Linked DNA regions of Homo sapiens: region 1 is linked to region 2. Evidence: promoter capture Hi-C in human tissues and cell types (Jung and others, 2019). All regions are on one chromosome and are shown on one strand. The core of a region is centred on a gene start or on the middle of the fragment in contact, and the rest is flanking DNA. Distances in the headings are between cores, read along the strand shown.

Region 1 (4,575 bases), core at 1,016-3,515, 1.2 Mb before region 2:
AACTCCATCTCAAAAAAAAAAAAAAAGAAAAAAAGAAAATGGGGTTCAAATCTCTCCCACCTCATGCCAAAACATCAGACAGTAGAAGAGAGAAGACGGATTACTCCCCTCCTACCACCATAGAGGTGTCTCTGGCAGCAGCTGAGTCTCCTCCATTGCTCTAGCACTTGCTGGATAGAGCCATGGAGGTTGCCAAGGCTCTATCTTTTGCTAGGTAACCATGGCTCCTAGGATCCAGTGCCACCTGTTCTCCCTTTGACCCTTATGCCCAGGGTGAGAGTATCTTCCTATTGTTGCTAATCTCTGAGTTTCTTTACCATTTCCTGTTTGGCTTCTCAACTGGTGCCAGTTCCCTGCATTGAATCCTCTTTGTTTCAAATATTTGGAGTGATTTTTTTTCTTGGTTATGTACTGACTGATACATTCAGATTTAGATGAAACTAAAAAATATCATGGAAATAATACATGATAACAACTCAGTCAAAACTATTAACTGTGCAACAGTAATGCTTGTTCACAACAGGTTGTGTTAAGGATAATTCTAGGCTGCCAGTTCTGCCAGTTAAAATCCATTACTTAGCTCTAGTTATAACTCAACTCCCTTTTTTTCCTCTCATATTTGAATTGTAAGAAAATGAAGAGTGACATTATCATTATCATAGAAGTAACTTTAAATCTGCTTTACCTCATATAAAAAAGTAGATCATTTGCAAACCTTGGTATTTTCACTATTCTTAGCATTGTGTACGTGTGTGTGTGTATGTGTGTAAGATATCTCACAACCATTGCTCTTTGCTATGATGCCTTCCAAAATAAAGGGTTGTTGAGATAGAATAGATCTTTAGTTTTGGCCATTCTGAGTCTGGAACTAGAGTGTCCAAGGTCTAAGATGAACCCAGTGACAGCTTACACTTCTCTTTTTGGGAGCTTGTTCCTGCCACTCATCATCAGAAACAGTCATGAGCACTTGCCATATGCCAGGCATTGTGGTCTTAGTGTGGACATAAGAGCTTGGTGGACCATCATAAACCATCAGAGCTACTTTATCAGGAAACTGAGTCACAGAGAAATTAAAGAACTATACCAGGATCGCATAGATAGTAAAAGGACAGTGTTGAGATGTGATCCTAGTCAGTCTGGCTCCAGAGTTACAGCCTATGCCGTTGGCCACAATGCTTTAATGCCTCTCTATAGAGCAGTCTTGTCTGCCTGGTGGCCCACTAGGACCCTCATTCAGTGTACCATGACCTCTGTTTCTCCCCTTTCAGTCTCCTTTCCAAAGGCATCATATATCCCCCCATTACTGAGATAGGAATGTGCACATTTTATAATCATGCCATTGGAAAAGTATAAGTTCTGCCCTATGGGGTGAAGGAGGGGATCAAAAAGGTTCTGTCTCATATTATTCCTCCTCACCCTTGAATATAACCAGTCAGAGAGAGGCTGAAACATCTCTCAGGGGAAGAGACTGAAGAACAGAAAATAGGGTAGTTGGAAGAATTTGTTTTTCCAGGAGTTAAACCACTTTGGAATGGAAAGCAGGAAAAAAAAAACCCACAAAAATGATTTTCTGCTTTTTTTTAAACTTAAAATTATGGAAATTGTTTCTGACAGCAAATTGCTCCTAATTAATTTCTTGGCTCTGCTGGGAAAATGTACTGTTCTGTTGATTTCTAAATTCCACCAGCTTAATTATCAAAATACATTTTTTTTCATAAAACTATTAACATGTGGGGTTGCAGTTAGGGGGCTGTCAGCATAGTGCAAAGGAAAAAGAGAGAGTAGGGGAGCAAGGGTTGGATGAGCACCAGGAGGCCTAGAGACTCAACTCAAGGCTTGGTACCCATGTTCCAAAGTCTGGGAGAAGGTAGCAGCCACAGGAAAAGAGGTCTTAATGATGCAGGCAGAATCACAATGCAGGGAGTGCCTGGGAATGAAGTTGGGAGATCTGGATTCAAATTCCATCTATACTACTTACCTTAGACAAACAGTTGAATTTTTGCTGCGCCTCAGTCGTTTCTATAAAATGAGGCTAGAAATAATGTTAATTAACATTTGTAGAACTCTTGCTATATGCCAGGCAGTATCCCAAGTGTTTCTATGTGCATTCACATGCCATTCTTCTCCACAGCCCTGTGAAATAGGCATTGCAACTCTACTTTACAGATGAGAAAACACAAGTTCAGAGGGGTCATACAAATTGCCTGAGGTTATACATGTTAAGAACCAAGTAGCCAGGATCACTGGTAAGAGAAAATGAGTTTCTAGCTTAGTGCCAAACTATTGCCTAACCTGTCTGTCTTCCTCATTAGACTGAGAGCCTCTTGAGGTCAGGGGACCAATTCCCCCGATTTTGTATCCACAATGTAGGTAATGTCTGATAAGTTAATAAATGAATGAACAAATGGTTTAGATGCTCAATTAGATACTGGCAGAATTCAAATCTGGAATCAGTTAATTTGGTGCCATTCAAGAAAAACATTCAATTTCAGTCACTTGGTAGATGTTAATCAAATATCTGCTGTATGCCAGTCACTGAGCTAATCAATAAATAACTTTGGGCACCTAGCAATTTTGCTTTTGGGAATAGATCATAAGAAAATATTTGGATAATTGTATAAAAATGGAAGAATAAAGCTGTTCATCACAACATTATTTCATTTTTTTTAAACGTAAAAGTTCATTCATCTAACAAATATTGCTGAGGGCCTGCTACATACCAAGCATTGTTCTAGACATTCCCATTGAACAAGACAAACAAGGTCCCTGTCCCCATCAACTCACAATCTTGTGGGGAAGATAGAGAAAACCCAAATGGTTATATAATGTCAGGTAGCAATGAGACCTGTGAAGTAAAAGGGAGCATTTTCGGGTAAGGAAATGAACTGTGAAAGGAATTAATTTTTGGATTGGGGCTCAGTAAAAGTCTCTCTGAGGAGAGGCCATTTGAGTCATTCTTAATGACATGAGGGAGTGAACCATATGAACATCTGGGAAGATTAGTGTAGAGGGCAGAAGTATAGTCTATAAGCTTGTTTTCTTTGTGACCTTGGGCAAGTCACCTCAGCTCTCTGGCCCTCTGGGCTGGAAGAACTAAGTCCCTCTCCTCCATCCTTCCAGCTATGATCCAGGCGCTCCTCCCTCCTACTGGGGCCCAGAACAAGGTTCCATATCTGAGAGAGCCTCTTGTTACCAAAATATTTTGCAAAATCCCAAGTGCTACAGAGATGTAAGTCAGATGCAAGTTAATCCTACCTCTCTGCTGAAGCCAAGTTCGACTATTACTTCCTTTCTGAAGCCTTGCCTTACTTTGTCGGGAAGGATGTCTCTGGGCTCCCTTTATACTTTTTATGCACCTCTGCTGTAACATTTAGTTTTTTGCAGCATATGATTTTTTAACTTCTTGAAGCAAGGACAATGTATCCTTTGTTTCTGAATCATAGCCACTAACTCAGTGCTTGGCACATGGTAGTACTTAATATGGGATAGCTGAATTAACTTGAAAGGGCATTTGTGGATTGAGCAAGATTTTGACATGAGTTGGGTGAGGTTTTTAGTTACATTGAAATCTATTCTCTCATACATAATCGGTACACAATAAAAACTCACTGAATGAATAAACACATGTTGTGAAAAGCAGTTTCTTTTTGCTGAGTGAGGATTACCTCATCTCTGCAAGGAAATCCATGTTTTGACAGTAATCAGACCTGGCAATACAGGGATATAGAGTGGGGACAAGTGGAGGGATGTGAGAAAGATTCACCTTCATTACAGATCTACTTTAGCAGGCAATGTGTTAGGTAGAACACTGAATCATTATCCCAGTTGATCCTCAGAACAACCCTGAGGGTACTTTTTAATTATCCCCATTTTATAAGTGAAGAAAAATGAGTCAGAGAGATTAAGGCATTACTTTCATACACAAAGTAGAAGGGGTGCAGTAGGATCAAGAAGTCAGGAGTGTCTGGCATAATGTCCTTGCTCCCCAGAGCCCTTGGCACTGAAGGTGGTTGGGGAAACACTGGAAAATGCTTGGGGTTTCCTCTCCTGGAGCTGCATCCGCTCACTGGCACTTACATAAGGAGATGGTTGCTGTTTTTAGAAGGTACTCATAGACTCATAGTCACACAAATAAACATCCTAATACTTTAGCGAGTTGATGGACCTGCCGTGTGAATTCTGCACAGCTCAGACTCCATCTCAGGGGAGAACATGGCTTTCTAAGGTAATCATGTTTTCTCTGCTCTAATGGCATCAATAACCTTTCCCTCTTATTGTTGCCACAAAGTTTTTCAAGGTACTCGCTAGGTTGTGAGTACCTTGAGGTTCAGGGCTTGGAATTCTTGCCCCTCTTGTGGGTAGCTCAGAGCCTGGCACAAAGAGGACCTCAAATTATTGCAAATAAAAGGAAAGAGACTGTGATGGTTAATTTTATGTGTCAACTTGACTGGATCACGGAGTGCCCAGATATTTGCTTGAATGTTATTTCTGGGCATGCCTATGTGGGTGTTTCTGGATGAGATTAATATTCAATTAATAGACTAAGTAAAGTAGATTGTCCTCTCTGGTGTGGGT
Region 2 (4,331 bases), core at 713-3,212:
CATGTTTCCACCTGCTTGGGTTCTTTGCACATGGTTTTCCTGCTGCCTCGACCACTCTTTGCCCTTTTTTTCAATTATCCAATCCCTATCATATGTCAGCTAAAATATCACTTCCAGACAATATCAGTAATTCAGTTATTCATTTAAGAAATCTTTATTGAGAACATACTATACACTTAGAAAAGTTCTAGACATGTGGTATTGATAAAACAATGCCCTTGTAGAGCTTACATTGTAGTGGAAGGAGACAGGAAATAAGCAATACAAGCAAGTAAATTAAATAGTATGTTCAAAGGCAATAAATGCTATGAGAAAAAAAGGAAAAGAAGAACAAGGTAAGCTCATCCAAAGCAGGGAATTTCCAATGCCTAACTTATTGCCAGGCATATAGTTAGCACTCGATATTTGTTGAGTGGATGAATGAATAAAGGAATAAGCCTGTTCAAGTTATGAGGGAGCTAAAACTATAAAATGAGTAGAGGAGCTACTCAATAAAACAGAGGTGCCATGAAAGAAAGAGAAATAATGAAGGCCTTGAGACATAATGGTTCCTCGAACTTATTTCTGAGGGTGTCATAGTTTTCAGTTCCAGTTTCTGGGGTGTGGTGTGTATGTACCATAACCACACACACACACACACACACACACACACACACACACACACACACACCAGGACCAAAGTAATTCAAGTGGATCACTCTTGTAATGATAATACCTGATCAGGACATATATACAAGGTTATGTATACCACTGCCAACACCCATCACACACATATTCCCAAAGCCACTTCTTTTCTACCCACACACCCATGCCATCCCGTAACATCCAGTTCTTCAGTGGTCAGCCTCATTTAGAGGCAAACTCCCTCCCACATACTCAAAACTGTAAAAACCTTTGCTTTCTTCTATGACCCTGTGAGAAACTTAAAGTCAGTATCTCACAAATCCCAGCCATATGCACAAGGGGTCCCCTCAGGAATAGGATCCTGGGTCTCCCTTCCTGTCAGTCTTCCTGTCCCTTAAAGGCTATCTTCTACCCACAGAAGTGTGGACATGCACTCCTTTGATTCTGAATGACCTTCAAGATCATTGAACCCACACACACTCACACTCACGCTCCAGCCTCCTTTGGTAGGCTCCTAAAGGACTGGGGCTCCGGGTATCCCCTCAAGGCCTCTTGTCTTTTTAAGGACCCATACAAGAATTATTTGCATAAATTTCTCTGTGACCAGGAGTGACCCTGAGGACACTGCACATCCCCAAACACAAATACTCTAACTCCCCCTTCCATGGCACTGTCTGATATTAAAGTAACACACCTTCCACGTATACCTCCCTCTTTAGAGTCAGAGCCTCCTACTCCCACCCCGAGCCCAAATCATGCCCCTTTAGGGATCTCTCCCATGCTCCCACAGGGCAGTGTACACCCTTTCCATGACACAGCCTAGCCCTAGGATTAGCCTTCACCACAGGTGATCCCAGGATTAAGATCCTGTCTCTTCCCTCAGGTCCCAGCCCCTTTCGGGCCCATGTTCTGTCAGAAGTGTGCACACTAACCCACACTCCCCTCCACCACCCGGACTTCGAGGTCCCTGCCCGCCATTCAGAGGGGTGCACGCCACCCTTGACCCCTGACCCTGAAGTCATAACCCACCGCGCAAATATACAGGACCGCCTCCTCAGGAGTAGGACCATGCCCGAGTCCCCTGTTGCCTGAGACCCAGGACAGCCTGGCCGCCTCAGCCTTCCCCAGATCGGCCGCCCCCACAGACCTGCCTCAGGCGCCGACTGGCTCCCCTCCGCCATTTTTGTTGTCCCTCAGTCTCCGAGCTCACGCGAAGACCGCGGGGCAGTAGGGAGCGGGTGGTGGGATCAGTGGGCTGACAGGAGCTACCTCAGGAAGACGCGGCACGACGGTTGCCTGGGCAACGGGCGGCAGGCGCGCGGGTGGCCGGCGCGCGGCTGAGGGCGGGAGGGACGCCTGGGAGGAGCGTGCGTCCAAGGCCCCGCCCCCGCGGCGCGAGCCCGGGCCTGAGCTGGGACTTGGGCCCCGGGGCGCTGCTCCTCCGCAACCGATCCACCGCATCCTGGCAACTGAGCAGGCTCCGCCACCCCTAGAGCACAGGGGCCAGGTCTGTAGGGATGGCGCTTTCCTGACGGCGACCGGGGTCCTCGTACTGACCGCCCAGACTAGCTAAACTGGCTTTTCTGTGGTTGGTGCTCAACTTTGGGGACTTGGGACAGGTTTCTTGATTTCCCAAAGCTTCTCCCCTTGGTTTGCCTGGGTTACTCGTCTTCAACTGAAATGCACTGAAAACCAACTGTGTGCCCACCCCAACCCAAACACACAGAGGCCCAAAGGGTTCTGGCTCCTTGCCCCTCTGCGACAGCAACCCTCAACCCCAGAAAAGACTTATCCTTTTGCTGACGTATTTTTCAGTAAATATGGGCTGCTGTTTCCCACCTTTCAGTAGTGACACGCCGTTATCGTCTAAAACCAAGCTGGAACATTACCCGTCCTGACCAGCTCTGCCCTCCCGCAGTCCCCTGTATATTCCCTCTATTCCAAATGCTTTATGCATTATTTCCTTCTCGACCATGAGCTCTCTGATACCTACGGTTGTTCTCTTATCTTTGTATACTCCATAGTGCAGCGTGGTGCATGACACAAAGTAGGATCTCAGTCAATGTCTGCTGAATGGAAAATGGTGGTAATCTGAAAGGAAATGAGGTGGAGAGAGTGAAAGAGGGAAGGGGGAAAAACGCTAAGAAAAATGTGTTATTGAGCTGATTGCTTTAGTAGACAACTATTTTTAATCTTGCTTCAGACTCTGAAAAACAGGGTAGAATGTGTGCCTGCCGTTGTCCCACTGAAGAACACAGAGTCTGGGGCATTTGTCTCCTAATTTCTGTCTCCATTGGTTGAGGGTTGCTCTCCACCTTCCAGCTTGAACTCTCTCACATTTCCTGGTTATGCTTGCCAGGGCTGAGCAGACTTCTAGAGTTTGAGAGAAAGCCTTGAGGCAGAAATGCAGAGACGGACCGGAAGGCCTTCTAAGTAAGATGCTGGCCACATGCATGGAACTGTCCATTCATCTGCATTAAAATCAGGGATAAGAATCTTGTACAGAAAGTTACATGAAAATAGCTATCAGAATTATCTCTCACATTTGAACAGTTTAAAATTCACAAGCCATGTCCACACAACTATCAAGATGAATATATATGTGCTTTCCACAGTCCTAATGACACTTATGTAAAGGCTGTGAGGGTTTTGGGAATTTCGGTGTCGGAGGAGTCAATAAGGGCTAAGAAGAACAAAAGAACTACATTAAGTATAGGGAGATGGAAAAATAAAGAGAAAGATGTGGGTTCTACTCAGACTGATGTTATAGCTTTATAATCTTGGGCAAATCACTTAAACTTACTGAGCCTCAGTTTCCTCTTCCAACAAACTGAGACAAAGGTCCTGCCTACCACAAAGAGTAGCTCTAAGACACAAATAGGGTGATGAATGAAAATGCATTTGATGAGTATGAGCCAGGCTCTGTGCAGATGCTGAGGATAAAGAGACAAATATAACATTATTAAATTGAACCACATTGGTCAATTTAAATTTTAAGTAAAATTTAGAACTCAGTTATTTAATCAGAATTGCCACTTTTCAAGTGCTCAATAGCTACATGTGGCTACTGGCTACCATATTGGACAACATATGTATAGAACATTTCCATCACTGCAGAAAGTTTTGTTAGTCAGAATTGATAGACAAATGCCTTACTGGGCAGAGGAGACGAAAAGCCTGGAAAACCAGCTTGCTGACAGGACCAGGTTCGGTTCTCCTCTGTGTCAGCTATTCCTCAGGAAGCAGTGCAGGAGGGAGTATAGACTTCTTCACTACTGCTGGAGTCTTCAGAGACTTCCCTTTTGTTGTGTGAAAAATAACACAGCATGGGAAGTGGGGGGAAAACGTCCCCTACATGGGCTCCTGGGAATTAGTTTCCCCGTGCTACCATTCATATGTCCCTGGGAGGTCTGTCTTCCCCAGAGACCTCCTATGATTTCTGTCTCCACAGAAAACACCCACCCACAACAAGGGTGCCTTCTTTCAAGCAAAATATACCCTGTAGGATTCACCCACTCCCTCCATAAACATTCATTAAAATGATACCTTCCATGTGCCTGGCCACTAAGTTAGATGCAGAATGGAATGAGAGAAATATTTAATTTATAATCATATTTTTACGAGCACAAACTCATTTCATTCTCAGAGCAGCATTATGATATTTGTATTAATATCAGCCTCTTGTACAGAAGATGAAATTGAGGCTC

The links. Contacts are between HindIII fragments. The study calls those that stand out against the background at their distance.
Region 1: a contact is called between a fragment that was not itself captured here and the fragment with the promoter of AGBL4 in region 2, in 1 of the 25 tissues and cell types used here (mesenchymal stem cells).

What each region holds. Positions count from the first base shown.
Region 1 is chr1:48,828,175-48,832,749 of GRCh38, forward strand. All of the region lies in intron 6 of AGBL4 (AGBL carboxypeptidase 4), which reads right to left. Among named protein-coding and RNA genes, the nearest start is that of BEND5, 54 kb to the left of the region's middle. The HindIII fragment of the contact is 3,158 bases long and covers 687-3,844 here.
Region 2 is chr1:50,021,992-50,026,322 of GRCh38, forward strand. AGBL4 (AGBL carboxypeptidase 4) reads right to left here and starts at 1,963. Exons shown (of 14, transcript NM_032785.4): 1 at 1,772-1,963. The coding sequence starts at 1,805. LOC105378708 (a long non-coding RNA gene) reads left to right here and starts at 2,030. Exons shown (of 3, transcript XR_947311.3): 1 at 2,030-2,131. The HindIII fragment of the contact is 7,609 bases long and covers 1-4,331 here.